7 separate regions of the Homo sapiens genome follow, and all the other regions are linked to region 2. Evidence: promoter capture Hi-C in human tissues and cell types (Jung and others, 2019). All regions are on one chromosome and are shown on one strand. The core of a region is centred on a gene start or on the middle of the fragment in contact, and the rest is flanking DNA. Distances in the headings are between cores, read along the strand shown. Region 1 holds the start of CERCAM (cerebral endothelial cell adhesion molecule). Region 2 holds the start of LRRC8A (leucine rich repeat containing 8 VRAC subunit A). Region 3 holds the start of ODF2 (outer dense fiber of sperm tails 2). Region 4 overlaps GLE1 (GLE1 RNA export mediator). Region 5 overlaps ODF2 (outer dense fiber of sperm tails 2). Region 6 has its middle 17 kb from the start of ODF2. Region 7 overlaps ODF2 (outer dense fiber of sperm tails 2).

The links. Contacts are between HindIII fragments. The study calls those that stand out against the background at their distance.
Region 1: the fragment with the promoter of CERCAM here is called in contact with the fragment with the promoter of LRRC8A in region 2 in 3 of the 25 tissues and cell types used here (dorsolateral prefrontal cortex, lymphoblastoid cells and spleen).
Region 3: the fragment with the promoter of ODF2 here is called in contact with the fragment with the promoter of LRRC8A in region 2 in 8 of the 25 tissues and cell types used here (adrenal gland, dorsolateral prefrontal cortex, heart left ventricle and 5 more).
Region 4: a fragment that was not itself captured here is called in contact with the fragment with the promoter of LRRC8A in region 2 in 4 of the 25 tissues and cell types used here (dorsolateral prefrontal cortex, liver, lymphoblastoid cells and 1 more).
Region 5: a contact is called between a fragment that was not itself captured here and the fragment with the promoter of LRRC8A in region 2, in 2 of the 25 tissues and cell types used here (dorsolateral prefrontal cortex and liver).
Region 6: a contact is called between a fragment that was not itself captured here and the fragment with the promoter of LRRC8A in region 2, in 1 of the 25 tissues and cell types used here (lymphoblastoid cells).
Region 7: a contact is called between a fragment that was not itself captured here and the fragment with the promoter of LRRC8A in region 2, in 1 of the 25 tissues and cell types used here (dorsolateral prefrontal cortex).

What each region holds. Positions count from the first base shown.
Region 1 is chr9:128,419,542-128,422,382 of GRCh38, forward strand. CERCAM (cerebral endothelial cell adhesion molecule) reads left to right here and starts at 1,316. Exons shown (of 13, transcript NM_016174.5): 1 at 1,316-1,533. The coding sequence starts at 1,337. RefSeq lists a silencer at 702-1,601 and an enhancer at 1,862-2,051. The HindIII fragment of the contact is 34,497 bases long and covers 1-2,841 here.
Region 2 is chr9:128,880,704-128,883,520 of GRCh38, forward strand. LRRC8A (leucine rich repeat containing 8 VRAC subunit A) reads left to right here and starts at 1,430. Exons shown (of 4, transcript NM_019594.4): 1 at 1,430-1,547. It overlaps KYAT1-SPOUT1 (KYAT1-SPOUT1 readthrough), which reads right to left and starts at 1,247. Exons shown (of 25, transcript NR_182311.1): 1 at 1,194-1,247. It overlaps KYAT1 (kynurenine aminotransferase 1), which reads right to left and starts at 1,247. Exons shown (of 13, transcript NM_004059.5): 1 at 1,194-1,247. RefSeq lists an enhancer at 1,317-1,466 and a silencer at 1,497-1,776. The HindIII fragment of the contact is 17,929 bases long and covers 1-2,817 here.
Region 3 is chr9:128,454,734-128,457,689 of GRCh38, forward strand. It overlaps ODF2 (outer dense fiber of sperm tails 2), which reads left to right and starts at 1,273. Exons shown (of 21, transcript NM_001351578.2): 1 at 1,273-1,522. The coding sequence starts at 1,359. RefSeq lists enhancers at 346-1,082, 956-1,045, 1,083-1,818, 1,176-1,225, 1,819-2,554 and 1 more and silencers at 1,446-1,755, 1,886-1,985, 2,016-2,165, 2,376-2,425. The HindIII fragment of the contact is 20,941 bases long and covers 1-2,956 here.
Region 4 is chr9:128,516,111-128,518,924 of GRCh38, forward strand. The region is part of intron 3 of GLE1 (GLE1 RNA export mediator); the gene reads left to right. Among named protein-coding and RNA genes, the nearest start is that of GLE1, 13 kb to the left of the region's middle. The HindIII fragment of the contact is 4,090 bases long and covers 1-2,814 here.
Region 5 is chr9:128,476,189-128,479,147 of GRCh38, forward strand. The region is part of intron 8 of ODF2 (outer dense fiber of sperm tails 2); the gene reads left to right. Among named protein-coding and RNA genes, the nearest start is that of ODF2-AS1, 4.7 kb to the left of the region's middle. The HindIII fragment of the contact is 8,207 bases long and covers 1-2,959 here.
Region 6 is chr9:128,438,022-128,440,864 of GRCh38, forward strand. No RefSeq gene overlaps it. Among named protein-coding and RNA genes, the nearest start is that of ODF2, 17 kb to the right of the region's middle. RefSeq lists a silencer at 597-770. The HindIII fragment of the contact is 5,750 bases long and covers 1-2,843 here.
Region 7 is chr9:128,496,110-128,499,049 of GRCh38, forward strand. ODF2 (outer dense fiber of sperm tails 2) reads left to right here. Exons shown (of 21, transcript NM_001351578.2): 18 at 1-32; 19 at 2,304-2,466; 20 at 2,892-2,940. Among named protein-coding and RNA genes, the nearest start is that of GLE1, 7.1 kb to the right of the region's middle. RefSeq lists an enhancer at 1-15. The HindIII fragment of the contact is 9,273 bases long and covers 1-2,940 here.

The DNA of each region.
Region 1 (2,841 bases), core at 66-2,565, 460 kb before region 2:
AATCCCTGCAAACCCTCCCAGATGGGTGGCGTTATCAGCCCGATTTTACCCGAGAGGCTCCTGAGGGAAAGGGACCTGTCTGAGGTTGGTGACAGACACCCAGTTCGATCCCATCTGTGGTGCCGCCAGGCCGCTCCCTTTTCTGCTCCTCTCCCGAGAGGCTGCAGAGTTCTTTCCCTCCCAGCAGGGTCCTAAGGACCCCGGCGGTGCTCCAGGGGAGCCAACATCCCCTGCTTTGGAGGACGGACGGGTCGGGTCGCAGTGAGCAGCTCCGTGGTGTCCCCTAGTTCTACACTCAGACCAAGAGAGGGCTGTGAGGGCTGTGCTCTTTTTTTTTTTTTCTTTTTGAGACGGAGTCTCGGTCTGTCATCCAGGCTGTAGTGCAGTGGCGCGATCTCGGCTCACTGCAACCTCCGCCTCCCGGGTTCAAGCGATTCTCCTGCCTCAGCCTCCCAAGTAGCTGGGAGTACAGGCACCCGCCACGACGCCCGGCTAATTTTTGTATTTTTAGTACAGATGGGATTTCACCATCTTGGCCAGGCTGGTCTTGAACTGATCTCAGGTGATCCTCCCGCCTCGGTCTCCCAAAGTGCCGGGATTACAGGCGTGAGCTACCACGCCCGGCCTGGCTGTGCTCTCTTAAAGGGCCGAAGCAATGCGGGTGCTGGCGACCGACGCAAGGAGGTGACGCACAGGGGACTTAAGGAGCGGACCGCCGCGGGAGGACGCGCCCAGCTCAGGGGGACTCCCTCTGCGCCCCCCACGCTGGGTCTCCGGCCCACGCGTGGCCCGGCTGGTCTGCGGAGCTAGCGCCAGGGCCGCCAGAGGGCGCCCGGGGCGGAGGATGGGGCGGGAGCCGGGGAAGCCCGGGAGGTGGTGGCCGAGTGGGCGCCGCCCCTCTGGGTCTGCGGCTCAGGTCGAAGAGTCGGCTGCGTGGGCCGGGGAATCCGGATTCCGGGGGTTCAACGCCCAGGGGTTCCATGAGCCCCTACTGTTCTCGGACGCCCGGCCGGCCCCGACGCACTCGTCCTAGCACCCCTCCCCTGTCCGGTCCTCCGGCCCCTCCGCCGTCGCCCCTCCGGGGTCCAGCCGGGCGGGGCTGCTCCAGGGTCGCGGCTGGCGCGGGTCCCCGGGCCCTGGCCCTCCGGTGCCCCGGGCCAAGGAGAGAAAACTTGAGCATCCACGCACAGGGGTGGGGAGCAGGATCCCACTCTGAGGGTGCACTGCCCCGCCCTCTCCGGGTCTGCCTCGGCCCCGCCCGGGCCCCAGGCCCCGCCCCCTCCCCTCGGCCGGCCCGAGAGCTCCGGGGGCCGCTGCAGCCGCCCAAGCGCCCGCCATGCGCGCTGCCCGCGCCGCGCCGCTGCTCCAGCTGCTGCTCCTGCTGGGGCCGTGGCTGGAGGCTGCGGGCGTTGCGGAGTCGCCGCTGCCCGCCGTGGTCCTTGCCATCCTGGCCCGCAATGCCGAACACTCGCTGCCCCACTACCTGGGCGCTCTGGAGCGGCTGGACTACCCCCGGGCCAGGATGGCCCTCTGGTGAGAGACCCGGGCATTGGCACCGAGTGGGCACCTAACCCCCAGCTTCGCAGATGGCCCCCGCCCCCGGCGGCCCTGTCTGCTCGCTCCCTGCCCAGACACCACCTAGACAGGCCCCTCCCCTCACAGACGGCCCTGCCAGCCCGAGCCGCCAGAGAGGACCCCGAGCCCCCTGCTGGGAGACGACAGACCTCTGAGGCCACAGGCCGACGCGGGACACCCACCCCTCCTTCTGGTCCCCTACTCCTTCCTCTTGGGGCCTTCCCTGGGTGTAGGTTGGGCCCAGCCAGCCCTTTTCACCCCAGCCTTCAGGGCCCAGCTCAACCCCAGTGGGACCTGTGGTTGGCTGGATTTGAAGAGGAGCAGACAGGAACCTCTGAAGTCCACTGGGGCCCAACGTGGCAGGGATCGACCACGCTGGAGGCTTCCGGGCACAGGTTGGGGGTGCCATCAGCACTGGGCTCCGGGCTGTGCAGGGGAGTCAGACCGGCCCCCCCACCGCCCCCGTGCTGGGGCCAGCTCTCTTGGTAGATCTTGGTAGAGGGGCGGGATCCTGTCAGCCAAGGGCAGTCCCCCTTCCTGGAGCCTCTCCCCTCTGGCATCTCTGTACCCCCAGGGCACTGGGATCGAAGGCCACAACCCCTGGTCTGTAGACACCAGAACAGGGAGGAGTCCCTGGCTGAGGTTGGGGGTAAACTGAGAAAAATGACAAGCCACCCTCTTCAACACACCACAGTTGGGCTGGGGGGGTGGAGCCCTGGCCTGGGGAGGCCGCCCACAATTACCACAGTTTGGGAGTTTGTTAGTTCCCACCCCTGTAAGACTTGACACGTAGTCTTCATTTCTGGGGAATTGGCTTAAAGGGGCAGCATCACCCAAAACCTGGGCACTTGGCTAAACCCCCACCTCTGTTATGGGGGCCCCTTCCCCAGGAGAGGGGAGGCTGTGCCCCATGACAGCAGAGCTTGGACCCATCTGCATTCTTAGGGACGCTTAGAGCATGGTTTGGTCCTTATTACAACCTGGGGGTGGAGGAAAGCAGCAGCTCTTCTGTCTAGTCCCCATTCAGAGAGGGACAGGGGCTGGCCTGTGGTCACACAGCCACAGGTCACATAGGTAGGTATCTGCCCACCTAACGAAGGTAACCAGGGAATGCACCAGGTGTGATCCTTAAAGTCGAGGTACTTTTCATCTTTCAAAATGCATTCGTTGGCCAGGTGTGGTGGCTCACGCCTGTAATTTCAGCACTTTGGGAGGCCGAAGTGGGCAGATCACCTGAGGTGAGGAGTTCAAGACCAGCCTGGCTAA
Region 2 (2,817 bases), core at 180-2,679:
AGTGCTGGGATTACAGGTGTGAACCACCGCGCCCGGCCCTGGCTATGATATTGCTAAGTTTCCTAACCTCTCTAAGGTTCTTTTCTCTTCTATTAAAAGGGAAAAATAAGACCTCCCAACAGAAGTGAAACTAGGCATTGGCTTAACACGTGATGGATGGGAGCCACGACTATCTTCATCATCTTATTTTTAATTATCTATCTGTGCACATGGTAGTAAATTTCTCGCCCTGGCCCAGGTACCCAAGACCCCAATTCTGTCGGAGACAACCGCAATTAACAACTTCTTGTGCATCTTATCAGACAGCTGGCGCGCACACCCGCAGATACGCCCACCCTCAGGCGTCCTTCTACGCAAAGATGGATAGCACCCATCAACGCTGTTTTTTCTTTTTTTAGACGGAGTCTCGCTCTGTCGCCCAGGCTGGAGTGCAGCGGCGCGATCTCGGCTCACTGCAAGCTCCACCTCCCGAGTTCATGCCATTCTCCTGCCTCAGCCTCCAGAGTAGCTGGGACTACAGGCGCCCACCACCACGCCCGGCTGATTTTTTTGTATTTTTAGTAGAGATGAGGTTTCACCAAGTTAGCCAGGATGGTCTCGATCTCCTGACCTCGTGATCCGCCCGCCTCGGCCTCCCAAAGTGCTGGGATTACAGACGTGAGCCACCGCAACCGGCCCAACGCTGTTTTTACTGTTGTTTCCTTTTTTAACCTAAGGTATCTTAGAAGTCACCCTACATTAGTGCATATTAAACATTGTTCGTCTTAATGGCTGCACAGTATTCCACTGTATGGATTATTTTTTAATTTGGTTGCCGGTACTGTTATCAGCCAGGGAATTTGCGAGGACCCAGCGGGATTTATGGAGCTGCAGAGTTGGAGTCTGGGGACCCAATTCCAACCCCAGATCTGTCCAGAATTCTGTTGTCTCGGGTATCATCTCCACCGGCGCGGTCGTGGGAGGGGGATTTGGGTGCAGACAGGACCAGCCCCAGTGTCCGAGCGAGAATCAGCGAGCAGCACGCGCAGTTGATTCCCGCGGGCGGCTCAATCATTCTGTGCAGCCACTCCGTTATACTTAGTAGCATCAAACTCATTAAGCACTCTAGCACAACCAAGCTCGGAACCGTTAGCCGACCCTCCCAGCCTCGGCACCTGACCTTGGGGAAGTGGCGCTCCGACACAGCTACTCACCCTCACCTGGGCCGCTTCACCCCTCGTTCCCAAGTACACCCCGTAGGTTGCAGCAGTCCCTGTCCCTTTAAGGGGGCCGAGCCCGGCTCCGCTACTTCCGCCCCGAAGCAGCAGGGCGCTAGCGCGGAGGCGAGAGCGGGAGAAAGCGCCGCTAGAATTCTCCTCATAAAGATGGCGACGCCCTGGCCGCCGCGTTCGCGCCCGGCGGTGACGTCACTTCCGGGGCGGAGGAGGCTGAGTGGTGCAGTGAGGGACAAACAAAAGGAGGCGCCGGAGCAGCGCTGCGGCCGGCGGCGGGACGGAGCGGCCGGGGCCTGGGGCTGCCTGCCGGGCGGCCGGGCGCGGCGAGCCCAGGTGAGTGGACGGGGTGGGGAAAGGGGCGCGAGCTGTCACCTCTCGAAACCCACTTACACACGCCCTCGGCCAGCTGCCCGGCCCGGGGCGCCCGGGGCATCTGGGGCTCTGTCTCCGGGCCGGCCCCCTGGGGACCTCCCGCGGTGTTCGGCCTACCTCTGGGCTCCCCAGTGCCCGGAGTCTCCGGGGCACCACCTTCTCGCCGGCTCCGCGGCGCGCGAGCCCCCTCCCAGGCACCCCTGTGCCTCCTTGTGCTTCAGAAACCAGGAGTTTCCGCCTCGGCTCCCCCATGTCCCCTTGTCATCCCCTGGGTCCCCCCAGATCCTCACCCCTCCACACACACTCTCCCGTTCCTAGAGGTTCCACCTCTGGGCTCTCTCCTTGCCATTTCTTTTTCAAAGATTTCCTTAGCTGTCTTCTCCTGAGTTCCTGGTCCCCTTCTCTTCCCTTGCACCCCTCCTTCCTATCGTTCCGATGGGGGCAGTGCCCTGACTTGGGGGCAGGATCCCCGGCTAGGCTCTTGGGGCCTTTCTGGGATGGGATATTTGGGAAGACCGGTCCGGAATCTAAGAACCCAGACCCTGTCCCAGTCCTGTGCATTCAGGTGGGCCCGAGGGCGAGGCGAGATCCAGTGAGGTCCAGGCCTGGTGCAGCCCTAGGTGAGCTGGATACCCAGCAAACTGAGCTCCCAGGCTGAAGGGGCATAGCTGGGGTCATGGAGTTCATGATGATTCTGCTGCTTTCGCTGACTGCTTCTTCCCCTTGATCTGGACCGGGGTGAACCGAGGTCTGCCGGTTCTCAGCTGTTGCGATTGTTGCCTTTTTTGGGAAGGAGGGATGGGTCGGGGGTTGTCTGGTAGCCGCCTCCTGATGGAGACTTGGCTGGAAGGGTGGGCGGTTCCTGGGTGAGCCACACTTCCACTGACTCCTCTTCCCCTGCCCTACCTCAGGAAGCCTTTTGAGAATGAGGTGTGGAGGGAGAGCACCTGGTAAGAGGAAGGGAACTGGGGGAGCCCGAAGTTCCCAAGGACCTCTTCCACCTCTTCTGTTAGTAGTACTCTTAACCCCTGCCAAACTGTATTCTGCCCTTTGGAGCAGACAACCTGGCAGACAGACAGGCTGTAAGAAGCGGGAGGAGATCGGCTGTTGCTGATACTTCCTGTGGAGGGGATGTGGGAGTGGGAGTTTGTTCAGAGAGACTGGGCAGTGCTGATTGCTCAGTCTCACTGGTGTTGCTTCCATGAAGGTCAAGTCTTCCTCTGGCTCATGA
Region 3 (2,956 bases), core at 23-2,522, 430 kb before region 2:
GGGGTTTCGCTATGTTGGGCAGTCTGGTCTTGAACTTCTGACCTTAGGTGATCCGCCTGCCTCAGCCTCCCAAAGTGCTGGGACTACAGGCGTGAGCCACCGCAGTCTTAAATGGTTAATGAGGATTAGGAAATCTATCAATTATTCAACAGAGAGACAATGAATGGATCAAGGGATTGGGGAGCTCCCTGACATTACAGAACAAATTCAGTATGCAGTATACTGTGAAAGCGAGGCGGAAAAGCAGGTTTTGTTTGCGAGTCTGACTTTAGGATTGCAGGTGAAACACTTGTGTGACCCTGGAGCTGTGTGGCTAAGGTGCTGCGGGGTCACTGGAGAAAGGTCAAGGGACTGTGGCCCAGTTGGCCCGGAGGTGGTTCAGGTCTCCCAGATTCCAGGGCGGCATTATGAGCCACGTGACAGACCTCCCCTGACTGGCTGACAGTGAAGCATAATTGAGAAGATGGCGGACCAGCAAGGACCTCATCAGAATAGGTCTGTACACAGAGCGGCATAGAGAGTGCAGGAGGGTAGTAGACCGGGCGCGGAGGCTCAAGCCTGTAATACAAGCACTTTGGAAGGCCGAGGCGGGTGGATCATGAGGTCAGGAGATGGAGACTATCCTGCCCAACACGGTGAAACCCCGTCTCTACTAAAAATACAAAAAAAAATTAGCCGGGCGTTGTGGCGGGCGCCAGTAGTCCCAGTTACTCGGGAGGCTCAGGCAGGAGAATGGCGTGAACCCGGGAGGCGGAGGTTGCGGTGAGCCGAGATCGCGCCACTGCACTCCAGCCTGGGCAACAGAGCAAGAATCTGTCTCAAAAAAAAAAAAAAAAAAAAAAAAAAAAAAAAAAAAAAAAGTGCAGGAAGGTAGTGAACAGAACAGCAAGGGGAATGCCGACCCTTTCTCCTGTTGGGGCCAAGACAGAGGCGATGTGGGCAGGGGAGAGGCCGGGGAATGCGCAGAAGCCGACTCCATCTCCGCATTAATAGTGGACTAGGGGCAGGGCTGGATTTTCGGAGGCAGTGTGCAGCTCCCAATAACTAGTTCCATGGGTCCTCTGTGAGCCTAGTTTCCTGGTGGGTACCGAGGGGAGGGCGTCGGAACCGTACGCTCCTTTGAGTGAGGGGAATCCGGGAGGATCCAAGGCAGGGGAAACAGGGCCGAGCGGGAAAGGCCTTGAATGGGGGGCGAGACCCGGCCAGGCCCGCTGGACGCGTAGCACGTCTCCTTGGTGACGGGACGCGTGGCCCGGAAGTGGGCGGCCCTTCTGGCGGGGCGGGGCATCTCTGTGACGCTAGGGGCTGGGCCTCGATGGCGAAACCCAAGCGGCTCCCGGGGGGGTTTGAACTGGCCAATGGGCGAGCTGCCGACCGGGTGTCGGAAAAGGAGGCGGAAGCGGGGAGGAGCCGCTGCCAGAGCCAGACTGCATCCGCCGCGGCGTCTCCATGGCACGACCCTGGCCTCCGACTTCAACGACTTCATAAGGCGGCGTTTCTGGGCGCAGCCGTGTCGCTCCTGGTGAGAGGCCGCCGGCAGGCGGGATCCAGCGCCCTCCGGGGCACCGCGGGCGAGACCGTCGCCTTCGCACCCCCGGCGCGGTCGACCCCGCGGGGCCGTCGGGTCCTGGGTTCCCCGCCGCGTTGCGCTCGTCCCCCTCCTGTCAGAACCTGGGCCCCCGCCCCGCCCACCGGCGCGGGGCCTCTCCTCCTCCCGCTAACGGGCGGTCGGCCGCCTCCTTCCTCTCTTGGCTACCACGGGGCTCTGCCCCTCCTCTGCCGCCCGCGGGCAGGGCTTCACCTTTCTCTCTATGGGCAGAAACCGGTACCCTCCTGCCTGCTGGTGGGTGGCCGTCCCTTCTCTCCGCCGACAGAGGCTCTCCCTCGCTCTGCTGCCCGTCGGCGGCATCGCCCCGACCGCCTCGTCCTCTCCTCGGGCCTCCACATGGCAGTCACTTGTACGCCCTCCGTAGGCAGCGCTGTCCCCCGGGCACCGTCTCCGGCTTGCCAGGGCCCTCGCCCGGCGGGGGGGGGTCCCGCCCGCCCCCTCCCAGCCCGGCGTCTATCCTGCTCAGAACTCTGTTCGGTTTTCCCTCGCGGCGGGGCGCCCGGGGCCCGTGCAACCTCCGCGCCTCCCTCCTTTAAACACTATTGGTCCTCTCGGGCATCTGTTCTTCCGTAACGCCCCTTCTCCTAGGAGACAGTTGTCCGGCCCCGCCCCAGCATCCCCGCGGCTCCCTGCGCGGTTCTGGCCCTCTGGGGCCCACTTGGGGCCGAGCGGTTCTCACCCGCCCTCTCCGCACGTCCGCCGGCGCCTCAGGTTTCCCCCGGTAGCCACCGGCAGTCCTCCGCGTGGGACCCGGGCGCGGTGGTCCTTTCCCTCGCGGTTCTGCCCCGTCCCCTCCCCTTCCTCCCCTCTGCCCCCAGGTCGCTCAGCCTCTACTATTTCCCCCTACTTTGGCAGGACAGTTGCTGTGCGACTTGGACAGTAGAGGAGCGCCTCCCAAGTTTTCATCCAACTGCCAACCCCAAAGCTTCCACCCTTCTCCCCTCAGAGAGGACGTTTGATGCCGGGCCCCTTGAGAGGCTCATTGACAAGCCTGCCCCTCTGGGTCCCCCTGAGCAGAGCCTGCTGACCCAATTGCCCACCTTTGCGGCTTTGATGCCTAGCCATGTCTGCCTCATCCTCAGGCGGCTCCCCCAGGTATTGCCGATGTGGGAGGCGCCTGCGCCGGAGGGCAGGGAAAGGTGGCCAGGGGTCCCCAGGGCAGGCTCGCCTGAGGCTTCCAGCTTCCTCATTGTGTTTGCTGAAAGTCTGGACCAAAACGTTTAAAAATCGTTTTTAAAGGGAAGGGGGAACGAAATGTATACACAATCCTAGCTCTACCTCCCTCGCTCCTTCCCTCCCCAGATGTCACAGCTTCCTGGAAGCAAACAGGGTCACTCTTGTTGTCTT
Region 4 (2,814 bases), core at 233-2,732, 360 kb before region 2:
CACACCCAGCTACTTTATTTTCTATTTACTAGAGACGGGGTTTCACTATGTTGGTCAGGCTGGTCTCGAACTCCTGACCTCAGGTGATTCACCTGCCTCAGCCTCCCAAGGTGCTGGGATTACAGGCATGAGCCACGATGCCCAGTCAGGACCTTAGCCTCTTGAAAAAATAGCAGCACTATTTTAATTAATTTATTTGATTGTATTTTGTTTTTGTTTTTGTTTTTGAGATGGAGTCTTGCTCTGTTGCCCAGGCTGTAGTACAGTGGCACCATCTCGGCTCACCGCAAGCTCCGCCTCCCAGGTTCATGCTATTCTCTTGCCTCAGCCTCCCAAGTAGCTGGGACTACAGGTGCCTGTCACCACGCCCAGCTAATTTTTTGTATTTTTAGTGGAGACAGGGTTTTGCCGTGTTAGCCAGGACGGTCTTGATCTTCTGACCTCGTGATCTGCCCGCCTCGGCCTCCCAGAGTGCTGGGATTACAGGCATGAGCCACCGTGCCCGGCCTGTTTTTTGTTTTTGTTTTTTTGAGACAGAGTCTTGCTGTTGTCAGCCCGGGCTGGAGTGCAGTGGTGCAATCTTGGCTCACTGCAACCTCCGCCTCCTGGGTTCCAGCAATTCTCCTGCCTGAGCCTCCCAAGTAGCTGAGATTACAGGCGCCTGCCACCACGCCTGGCTAATTTTTGTATTTTTTAGTAGAGACGGGGTTTCACCGTGTTGGCCAGGCTGGTCTCAAACTCCTGACCTCAGGTGATCCACCCACCTCAGCCTCCCAAAGTGCTGGGATTACAGGCATAAGCCACTGCGCCCAGCATGTATTTTTTTTTAATTAGGAAAGCAATGCATGATCTTGTAAAAATGTTTCAGAGTACAGGAATTTAGAAAATGAAAGTCTTGGCCAGGCACGGAGGCTCATGCCCGTAATCCCAGCACTTTGGGAGGGTGAGGCAGGTGGATCACCTGAGATAAGGAGTTCCAGACTGGCCTGGCCAACATGGCGAAACCCCATCTCTACTAAAAATACAAAAATTAGCCGGGCATGGTGGCACATGCCTATAATACTAGTTACTGGGGAGGCTGAGGCAGGAGAATCACTTGAACCCGGGAGGCAGAGGTGGCAGTGAGCCAAGATTGTGCCACTGCACTCTAGCCTGGGCAGCAGGGCAATACTTTATCTCAAAAAAAAAAAAGAAAAAGAAAATGAAAGTCTTCTAACATCTTGCCTCATTGGTCATTGAGTCAATAAATATTTGCTGAGCACCTATGTGCTAGATGCTGTTCCAGGTCTAGATAAAACAGTAAACATTATAGACATAGAGCTTATATTGTGGTGGGAAGAGACAGAAGTAAACAAGAGAAATAAGTAAAATATTTGGAACATTGTTGTAATCTGGGTGAAAGATGGTGGTTGCTTAGAGTAGGGTGGTAGCAATGGAGATGGTGAGAAACGACTAATTCTGCATATCAGAGTTGTTTTAATTCAAAGATTTATTTCCTGCATCTTTGGAAATTTTTCCCCTTGATTAGTTCACCTCTCCATTGCCTAAGTTAATCCTCTATATGTCCTATTCTTTCTTTCATTTTCCTTTTGTCTTATTGTTTTGTTTTCTAGAAGATTTCTATATTTTATTCTCCACCTGTTGATTGAAAAAATATATATGTATTTATTATGTCTAATTTTCATGAGTTTTTTTGTATTCTCCACTTCTTCCTTTTTCAGAGCATCTTATTCTCATTTCTTATCATATTCAGAGCTCTTTTTCAGATTCACTTGTGTTCCTTGATATACATGTCCTTCTGGATTCATTATTTTTTATTTGTTCATCTTGATCCCTTTTAGGATATAGAGATTCCTCAGTTATCTAAAGATCCTTATTGCTAGTAATCAGATCAGAGATTCAAGGGGAATAATCAGAAACAAGGTTATTAAGCTTTAGGACTTCCTAAGTGCCAGCATATTGTTTTGGAATACTAGTTCCCATACTGATTAGCTGTTTCTGGACAGTTTATTCATTTTCTTAAAAAAAACTCACGTGCCTGGCCTATTTTTTTTTTTTTCCGTATTCTGTTAGTCACGGTAGTCATAAAGTCCACTCAGGTTGAAGTAGAGGGTATGGAAGGATTGTCAGACAATTTGCAGATCTGTTTTAAAATCATTACAGCACAGGGCCGGGCCTGTTGGCTCACACCTGTAATCCCAGCACTTTCGGAGGCCGAGGCAGGCAGATCACTTGAGGTCAGGAGTTTGACACCAGCCTGGCCAACACAGTAAAACCCTGTCTCTACTAAAAATACAAAAATTAGGCAGGCATAGTGGTGCACGCCTGTAATCCCAGCTACTCAGGAGGCTGAGGCTGGACAATCACTCGAACCTGGGAGGTGGAGGTTGCAGTGAGCCAAAATCGCACCACTGTACTCCAGCCTGGGTGACAGAGTTGAGAATCCGTCTCTAAAAAATAAAAAATAAAAATAAAATAGCTGGACATGGTGGCTTGCACTGGTAATCCCAGCACTTTGGGAGGCCGTGGTGGATGGATCACGAGGTCGGGAGTTCGAGACCAGCCTGGCCAACATAGTGAAACCCCGTCTCTACTAAAAATACAAAAATTAGCCAGGCATGGTGGCAGGCACCTGTAGTCCCAGCTACTTGGGAGGCTGAGGGAGGAGAATCGCTTGAACCCAGGAGGCGGAGTTTGCAGTGAGCCAAGATTGCACCACTACACTCCAGCCTGGGCGACAGAGCGAGACTCCAAAAAAAAAAAAAAAAGCTGGGCACTGTTGCGGGAAGTCAGGGACCCCAAATGGAGGGACTG
Region 5 (2,959 bases), core at 147-2,646, 400 kb before region 2:
AAAGACTGACAGTATAAATGGTTGTCTCCTGCTTGGTTCTAAGCAAAGAGATGACAATAGTCTCAAAATGCCAGTGCTAATGAAATGGTGACGTTCTTCTTATTTTTGCTTTTTTATTTGAGACCGAGTTTCACTCTTGCCCAGGCTGGAGTGCAATGGCACAGTCTTGGCTCACTGTAACCTCCACCTCCTGGGTTCAAGTGATTTTCCTGTCTCAGCCTCCCTAGTAGCTGGGATTACAGGTGCATGCCACCACACCGGGCTACTTTTTGTAGTTTTAGTAGAGACGGGGTTTCATCATATTGGTCAGGCTGGTCTCGAACTCCTGACCTCAGGTGATCCACCTGCCTCGGCCTCCCAAAGTGCTGTAATTACAGGCGTGAGCCACCACACCAAGCCCTGTTTTTTTGTTTGTTTCGTTTTGTTTTAACATTGTCAACCTTGTTTTTATCTTTTTTTTTTTTCTTGAGACAGAGTCTTGCTCTGTCGCCCAGGCTAGAGTGCAGTGGCACGATATCGGCTCACTGCAACTTCTGGCCTCCCGAGTTCAAGTGATTCTCCTGCCTCAGCCTCCTGAGTAGCTGGGATTACAGGTGCGTGCCACCATGCCCAGCTAATTTTTGTATTTTTAGTAGAGATGAGGTTTCACTGTGTTGCTCAGGCTGGTCTCGAACTCCTAAACTCAGGCAATCTGCCCACCTCAGCCTCCCAAAATGCTGGGATTACAGGCATGAGCCACCGCGCCCGGCCTTATCTTTAAAAATTAATATATTGGCCGGGTGCAGTGGCTCATGCCTGTAATCCCAGCACTTTGAGAGGCCAAGGCAGGTGGAACACTTGAGGTCAGGAGTTCGAGACCAGCCTGGCCAACATGGTGACACCCCACCTCTACTGAAAATACAAAAATGTGATGGGTACCCGTAATATCAACTACTCGGGAGGCTGAGGCAGGAGAATTGCTTGAACCCAGGAGGGGGGAAGTTGCAGTGAGCCTAGATTGCACCACTATACTCCAGCCTGGGTGACAGAGCGAGACTCTGTCTCAAAAAAAAAAAAAACCTGTTAATATATAAAATAAGGCCAAGTGTGGTGGCTCACGCCTGTAATTCCCACACTCTGGGAGGCCGAGGTGGGAGAATTGCTTGAGGCCAGGAGTTTGAGACCAGCCGGGGCAACACAGTGAGACTTCATCTGTACAAAACATTTTAAATTTAGCCAGGTGTGGTGGCACACACCTATAGTCCTAGCTACTCGGGAGGCTGAGGTGGGAGGATTGCTTGAGCCCTGGAGGTCAAGGCTACAGTGAGCTGAGATTGTGTCACTCACTCAGGCTGAGTGACAGAGTTAGACTGTCCCCCCAAAAAATTATATATATATATAACAAGTAATGTAAAGTGGTATCCTCACTGCCCAGCTTTTTTTTTTCTTTTTTTTTGAGACGGAGTCTCGCTCTGTCACCGAGGCTGGAGTGCAGTGGCGCAATCTCAGCTCACTGCAACCTTCCCCTCACGGGTTCAAGAGATTCTCCTGCCTCAGCCTCCCAAGCAGCTGGGATTACAGGTGCCACTCCCGGCTAATTTTTGTATTTTTAGTTGAGACGGGGTTTCACCATGTTGTCCAGCCTGGTCTCAAACTCCTGACCTCAGGTAATCCACCCGCCTCAGCCTCCCAAAGTGCTGGGATTACAGGGGTGAGCCATTGTGCCCGGCCACTCACCGCCCAGCTTTTAAAATAAGTGTCTACATAGTTGATTCCCTTTTGTGTGTCATTTTGCAATAACCTTGTCTCCCTCCCCTCAGAGGGAAGCTTTATTAATTTTTTTGTTTGTTTTGATACAGAGTCTCACTCTGTCACCCAGGCTGAAGTGGCACAATCTCAGCTCACTGCAGCCTCTACCTCCTGGGTTCAAGCGATTCTCCTGCCTCAACTTCCTGAGTAGCTGGGATTACAGGTGTGCATCACCACACCTGGCTAATTTTTTGTATTTTTAGTAAAGATAGGGTTTTGCTGTGTTGGCCAGGCTGGTCTTGAACGCCTGACCTCAAGTGATCTGTCTGCCTCGGCTTCTGAAATTGTTGCACTCCAGCCTGGATGACAGAGCCAGACACTATCTCAAAAAGGAAAGAAAGCCAGGCATGGCGGCTCACGCCTGTGATCCTAGCACTTTGGGAGGCCGAGGTGGGCAGATTGCCTGAGCTCAGGAATTTGAGACCAGCCTGGGCAACACGGTGAAATCCCATCTCTACTAAAATACAAAAAAATGAGCTGGCATGGCGGTACGCTCCTGTAGTCCCAGTTACTCAGGAGGCTGAGGCAGGAGAATCGCTTGAACCCGGGAGGCAGAGGTTACAGTGAGCCAAGATCATGCCACTGCACTCCAGCCTGGGTGACAGAGTGAGACTCCATCTCAAAAAGGAAAAAAAAAAAAAGCCTCTTGCTCTAGCCAGTTTTCTCCTTTTTTGGTTTCTTAGCTTCTGTCATCCTGGAGTCCCATCTTCAATTGGAGATGAAGGGTCAGCTAATTTGAATTCCCACCCAAAAGTGGTGTTTTGTGCTTTGTCCAGGCTCAGCTCCTTGGTGCCCATCTGTGCTCAGGGCTCCCTCACCATCTCGGTGCTTGCTGGGTAGTGCTCAGTGTGGTGGGGAACTGCTCTGGTTCTGGAGTCCGAGTCGGCTCCAGGGCCCAGTACTACCCCTTCCAGCTGTGTGGCCTCACTTGCCTTCACTTCTCCCAGCCTTAGTCTCCTCCTCTGAGATGGGGGTAGTGATAGTGCATGGCTCTTAGAGTAGGGGGCTTTGGTGAGTTCATGCACATAGGATGGCAGAAGAGTTGGTCAGTGGTTTCAGTGCCCCAGGGGAGGCCTGGAGGGCAGTGAGAACAGCCTCAGGTTCTGCATCCGTGGCCAAGCCTTCTGTCCCAGGTTCTTTGCCTCTTGTTGCCAGAGAAACCATAATACTG
Region 6 (2,843 bases), core at 31-2,530, 440 kb before region 2:
TATACACGTATATACACACACGTATATACACGTATATACACACACGTATATACACGTATATATACGTGTATATATGTACACATACGTGTATATACATGTATATATGTATACATACATATATATACATGTATATATATTTGTTTGTTTTTAAGACAGAGTCTCGCTCTGTCACCCAGGCTGGAGTGCAGTGGTGTGATCTCGGCTCACTGCAGCCTCCGCCTCTTGGGTTGAAGCGATTCTCCTTCCTCAGCCTCCCTAGTAGCTGGGATTACAGGCATGTGCCACCACGCCCAGCTAATTTTTGTATTTTTACTTTATATTTTTTAACTCATGGCTGAGCCTCTGCATCTCAGCTGGCCTGGGAGGAGGCTTCCTGATCTATGGTTGAGCAATTGGAGGGACAGAGAGGGGAGGACAGGTGAGGAGTCAGGCCGATCCAGCATCACCTCTGTGCTGGGTGATCTTGGGTGGGTGCCATCCCTTCCCTGGGCCTTAGTCTACTCTTCGGTCATTGTGGCTGGTTGGGTATAGAGTGGCCTAGCCTGAGCCCGGCTCACAGTGAGTGCTCACCTGTTGGGGCTGATGTGGTCATCCCCGAAGTCATTACCAGCCTCACCTTGCTGGTCAGGGTGGGCCCAGCCAGTCCAAGGGCTGCTGATGTCCCCCGGCCCTTTGGATCATCTCTTGTGCAGCTGAAACCCTGGCTTAGGGGAAGAGGAACCGCCTGGGAGGGGCTGGGGGAGATCCTGGGTTCCCCTCTGGCACTAACCAATGTGGCCACCAGAGGGCGCAAGGTGGCAGAGCCTGGACTTGGCCAGGATGCTCTCTGCTGGGTTGGGGCCAACACCAGGAAGGAAGCATGGGCCATAGGGAAGCTCCCATTGGTGCTGGGGCAACCCGCAGCAGCTCTGCGTCTTCTGCTCTTCTGATGGGAACTGCAGGCCTCTCCCCTGGCCCCAGAGAGTCGGGCTTCTGGGCCCAGCCGCTGTCTGTCATGCCTGCACTCAGGCAGCTGGAGGGGTGGGAGGGGAGATGGCTCCTGGCCTTGGCCATGGCTGCTTTGGCTTCCACCGTTCCTGCTCCTCTTCCATGTGGCCCCCTGACTTGGTTGTGTGAGCACTCCAGTCCTGGCAGAGCCTGACAGGCACTCCCTGAGGTTGGGGTATCCCTTGGCTCTGTCCTGGGGTTGAGGTCCAGGACCTGGCACGGCTGTGAGAAGGACCTTGGGCTGGAGCTGTGGACTCGGTGCTTTATTCGTTCTAAGATGAAAGTCATTCATTCTGGATGGCTATGACCTTGAGCGACTCACTTCTCTCCAGGCTCCAGGTGTCCCCTTCATTCATTTGTTAACCTTTATTAAGCACCTCCCATGGGCCGCAGTCAGGCCCTGGGGATTCAGCAGTGAATGAAACTGACAAAACCCCTGACCTCATTAAACTGACATTCTTTTTTTTCTTTTTTTTTTGTGGCGGAGTCTCACTCTATCACCTTCTGTCACCACACCCGGCCAAAACTGACATCCTAATGAGGGATGCAGACAAAAACAAAGAAAGATCAGAGGGTGTGAATTGCTATAGAGAAAAATGAGAAGCGGAGAGATACAAAGTAAGATCTGAGAAGTTAACACCTGAACAAAGACGCAGGAGTGGGCCAGGCATAGTTGCTCATGCCTGTAATCCTAGCACTTTGGAAGGCCTAAGCAGATGGATCACTGGAGGCCAGGAGTTTGAGACCAGCCTGGCCAACATAGGGAAATCCCATCTCTATTAAAAATACAAAAATTAGTCAGGTGTGCTAGCGGGCGCCTGTAATGCCAGCTACTCGGGAGACTGAAGCAGGAGAATCACTTGAACCTGGGAGGTGGAGGTTGCAGTGAGCTGAGCTTGCACCACTGCACTCCAGCTTGGGCGACAGAGTGAGACTCCATCTCAAAAACAAAAGACTTCGCCAGGCAGGGTGGCTCACACCTGTAATCCCACCATTTTGGGAGGGCGAGGCAGGTGGATCACGAGGTCAGGAGTTCAAGACCAGCCTGGCCAAGAGGGTGAAACCCCGTCTCTACTAAAAATACAAAAATTAGCCAGGTGTGGTGGTGGGCGCCTGTAGTCCCAGCTACGTGGGAGGCTGAGGAAGAGAATTGCTTGAACCTGGGAGGCAGAGGTTGCAGTGAGCCGAGATCAAACCACTGCACTCCAGCCTGGGTGACAGAGTGAGACTCCGTCTCAAAAAAAAAAAAAAAATAGACAAAAAAAAAAAAAAAAAAGACTTTAAGGAGGGGAGGGGCTGAGCCTTGGGGATAGCAAAAGGAAGAGCTTCCAAGCAGAAGGAACAGCATATGCAAAGGTCCTGAGGCAGAAGCAGGACTGACAGTGCAGAAGAGAGGAGGACCAGTGTCTAGAGTTGATAGAGCCAAGGCTGGGGCCAGAGCAGGGATGGCCATGAAGGCCATTTTGGCTTTTACTCTGAGATGGAGCCCCCAGAGAGATGGAGGCAAAGAAGTAACCATCTAACTTACATTTTTACATGATCACCCTGGCAGAGATGTGGCATGATCTCATGTAGTGTTATAAGATCACACCGGCTACTGTGCTGAGAATAAACTGTAGGCAGGTCCATGGAAGAAACAGTGAGACCAGTTAGGAACCCACTGTAATAATTCAAGCATGGCTGGGCGTGGTGGCTTATGCGTATAATCCTAGCACTTTGGGAGGCTGAGACGGGTGGATCACCTGAGGTCAGGAGTTCGAGACCAGCCTGGCCAACATGGTGAAACCTCATCTCTACTAAAAATACAAAAAAGTCGGGCGTGGTGGTGGGTGCCTGTAATCCCAGCTACTCAGGAG
Region 7 (2,940 bases), core at 441-2,940, 380 kb before region 2:
CAGCTGAGTCTGAAGGTGGATGAACTGGAGAGGTTAGAGGCACTTGGTCCCATCTCTGTCCTCTTCCTAGGACCTGAGACTTTCAGCCACTTAGCTGTTTTTTGCTTAGTGTGCGGAAGTGTTGAGGGACTCGAGGCCCTGGAAGGTACTAGGCAGACCTCAGAGGAAAAGCTGCTTCCATTTCAGTGGTAAGCATTGTGGGAGAGAGCAAGGGGGCCTCTCAGCCTGGGGAGACACTCCATGACAGCATGATCAGGATCTGCCCACCTGTAGGCACCACCTGTCCCAAAAGGCATGCCTGGTCCAGGCCTGCCAGGAGGGCCCAGTTTGAATGGAGCAGCCAGTATACTGTGGTGGGGGCACTTCCCCACTCTTTTCTGCCCTTTCTTGCCAGTCACCCTTCCCAAGACCTTTCTGATCTGACCGTTCTCTGTTATTTACGGATTGTTGGAGGCAGTCAGAGGTGAAGGGTACGGCTTTGGGAATCAGAAGCCCTGGCCTTGGGGCCCAGCTCTGCCACTTACCAGCATTGTGATCTTGAGCAAATCATTTAATTCCTTTGAAGCTCAATTTCCTCCTTTTGAGGAAAGGGTCAAGGTAGAGTTTATCTATCTATCTATCTATCTATCTATCATCTATCTATCATGTCACTCTGTCACCCAGGCTGGAGTGCAGTGGTGCAATCTCAGCTCACTGCAACCTCGACCTCCTGGGCTCAAGCAATTCTCCTGCCACAGCCTCCCAAGTAGCTGGGACTACAGGCGTATGCCACCATGCCTGGCTAATTTTTGTATTTTTTGTAGAGATGGGGTTTCGCCGTGTTGCCCAGGCTGGTCCTGAACTCCTGGGTTCAAGTGATCCACCCACCTAGGCCTCCTAGAGTGCTGGGAGTACAGGCGGGAGCCACCACACCTGGCTGATAATAATCTTTTCATGGTGGTGGTGTGAGTCTTCAATGATATAATCCTGGTAAAGGTCCTAGCATGTTACCTGGCATAGAGAAGCGCTCAGTATAGCTTAGAACATGTTATTAGTTAGCTGGTATTATCCCAGTTTTAAATATGAGGAAACTGAGCTTGGGGAGGAGTTAAGTGACTTTCCCAGCATCACACTGTTGGTACCTGGCAAAGCATGACTTAGACCCGTGACTGTCTTCCTCGAGAGCTTCTGTGAGCATCTCTAAGAGGTAGGCAAGAGGCCGGGCGTGGTGTCTCACGCCTGTAATCCCAGCGTTTTGGGAGGCCGAGGCGGGCGGATCACGAGGTCAGGAGATCGAGGCCATCCTGGCTAACACGGTGAAATCCCGTCTCTACTAAAAAAAAAAAAAAAAAAAAAAAATATATATATATATATATATATATATATATATATATATATGTATAAAATTAGCCGGGCGCAGTGGCGGGCGCCTGTAGTCCCAGCTACTCGGAAGGCTGAGGCAGGAGAATGGCGTGAACCCGGGAGGCGGAGCTTGCATTGAGCCGAGATAGCACCACTGCACTCCAGCCTGGGCGAAAGAGCAAGACTCCATCTCAAAAAAAAAGAGGTGGGCAAGAGTCCTCCAGCCCTGGTCCCAGCCTTAGTTTCAGAGGTGAAGGTGCCTGACATCCTAGGAGGCCCTAAGTGCCTCAGGTGGCCAGTGCACTTGCAAGGAGGCTACAACCAAGTGGGCTCCTTCCAGGCTCCACCTCTGCTCTGCCCTGCCAGCCTTGGAAATGGCAGCTAGATCCCCCAGGCCCTGCAGAGCTCCTTAAATTGGAAGGCATCCTGGAAGTGCACTGAGGACAGTGTGTGTATATCGGGATGGCCATATTTGCCCTATGGCTGGTCACACAAGATGTTGAGTGGTGTAGCTGAAGTCCCTTTGCTGTGGGAGGCAGCAGTGAACAGCAGAAGTTGCAGGCTTAGGTTTTGGTTACAGACTTGCCAGCTGTGCTGACTTCAGGCCAATGAATTCCCCTCTCTGAGGCTCAGTTTCTTCATTTCTGAAGTGGGGATAATAATGGTACCATTTTTCTGAGCTGCAAGTTGCTGTGTTCCATGTGATGCTATCCACACTTAACAAAGCCCACGGTCAGTCTCTGCGTTCCCACCCTTCACTCTGTTCTCTAACCAGTTGCTCCAGCTGCACAGTTCTTTGGTCGCCTTGCTGATCTGCAGATTTCTTTGGCTTATTCCTGTGGCTCCTTGGAGATTCTTGGCATGATGAGATCCCCAGTCCAGGAGAGGCTGGCAGCCCCCTGGCGGGGTGGAACATGACAGGTTGGGGTATGCCCAGGATCTGATTGAGTGCTTTCACCTAGGAAACTGGAGGCGACCAGTGCCCAGAATATCGAGTTCCTACAGGTGATTGCCAAGAGGGAGGAGGCAATCCACCAGTCCCAGCTGCGGCTGGAGGAGAAAACACGGGAATGTGGGACCCTGGCAAGGCAGTTGGAGAGTGCCATTGAAGATGCGAGGAGGCAGGTCAGTCCCGATTTCATGAATGACTAGCTCTGTGACCTTGGGCAAATCACCTAAACTCTCAGCTTATTTCTCCATCTGAAAAATGGGCACACAGTAGTACCCGCTTCATGAATTAGTTGTAAGGATCACATTTTCATCGTAGAGGGCTCAGCACTTGATATCTGATGATTGCTCATTTACTCACTACCCTCTTGAGCCTCACATAGGCTTACCACATCTTAGGTGGTGACTCCTGGAGCACTGGCAAAGCTGGGTGGCAGGCATAGTCCCCATAGTTAGTTCCTGCCCCAGCGTTCTAGAGAACACAGTCCACAATGATGTGCAAGTGCTGTCTGCAAGACCAGATAGTGGGCCCAGCCTTCTCTTTGCCAAGTGTTCCCCATGTCCGGTAAACCAGTCTCATGTCTGGGCCTTTGAATGTGCAGGTGGAACAAACCAAGGAGCACGCACTCTCCAAGGAGCGAGCAGCCCAGA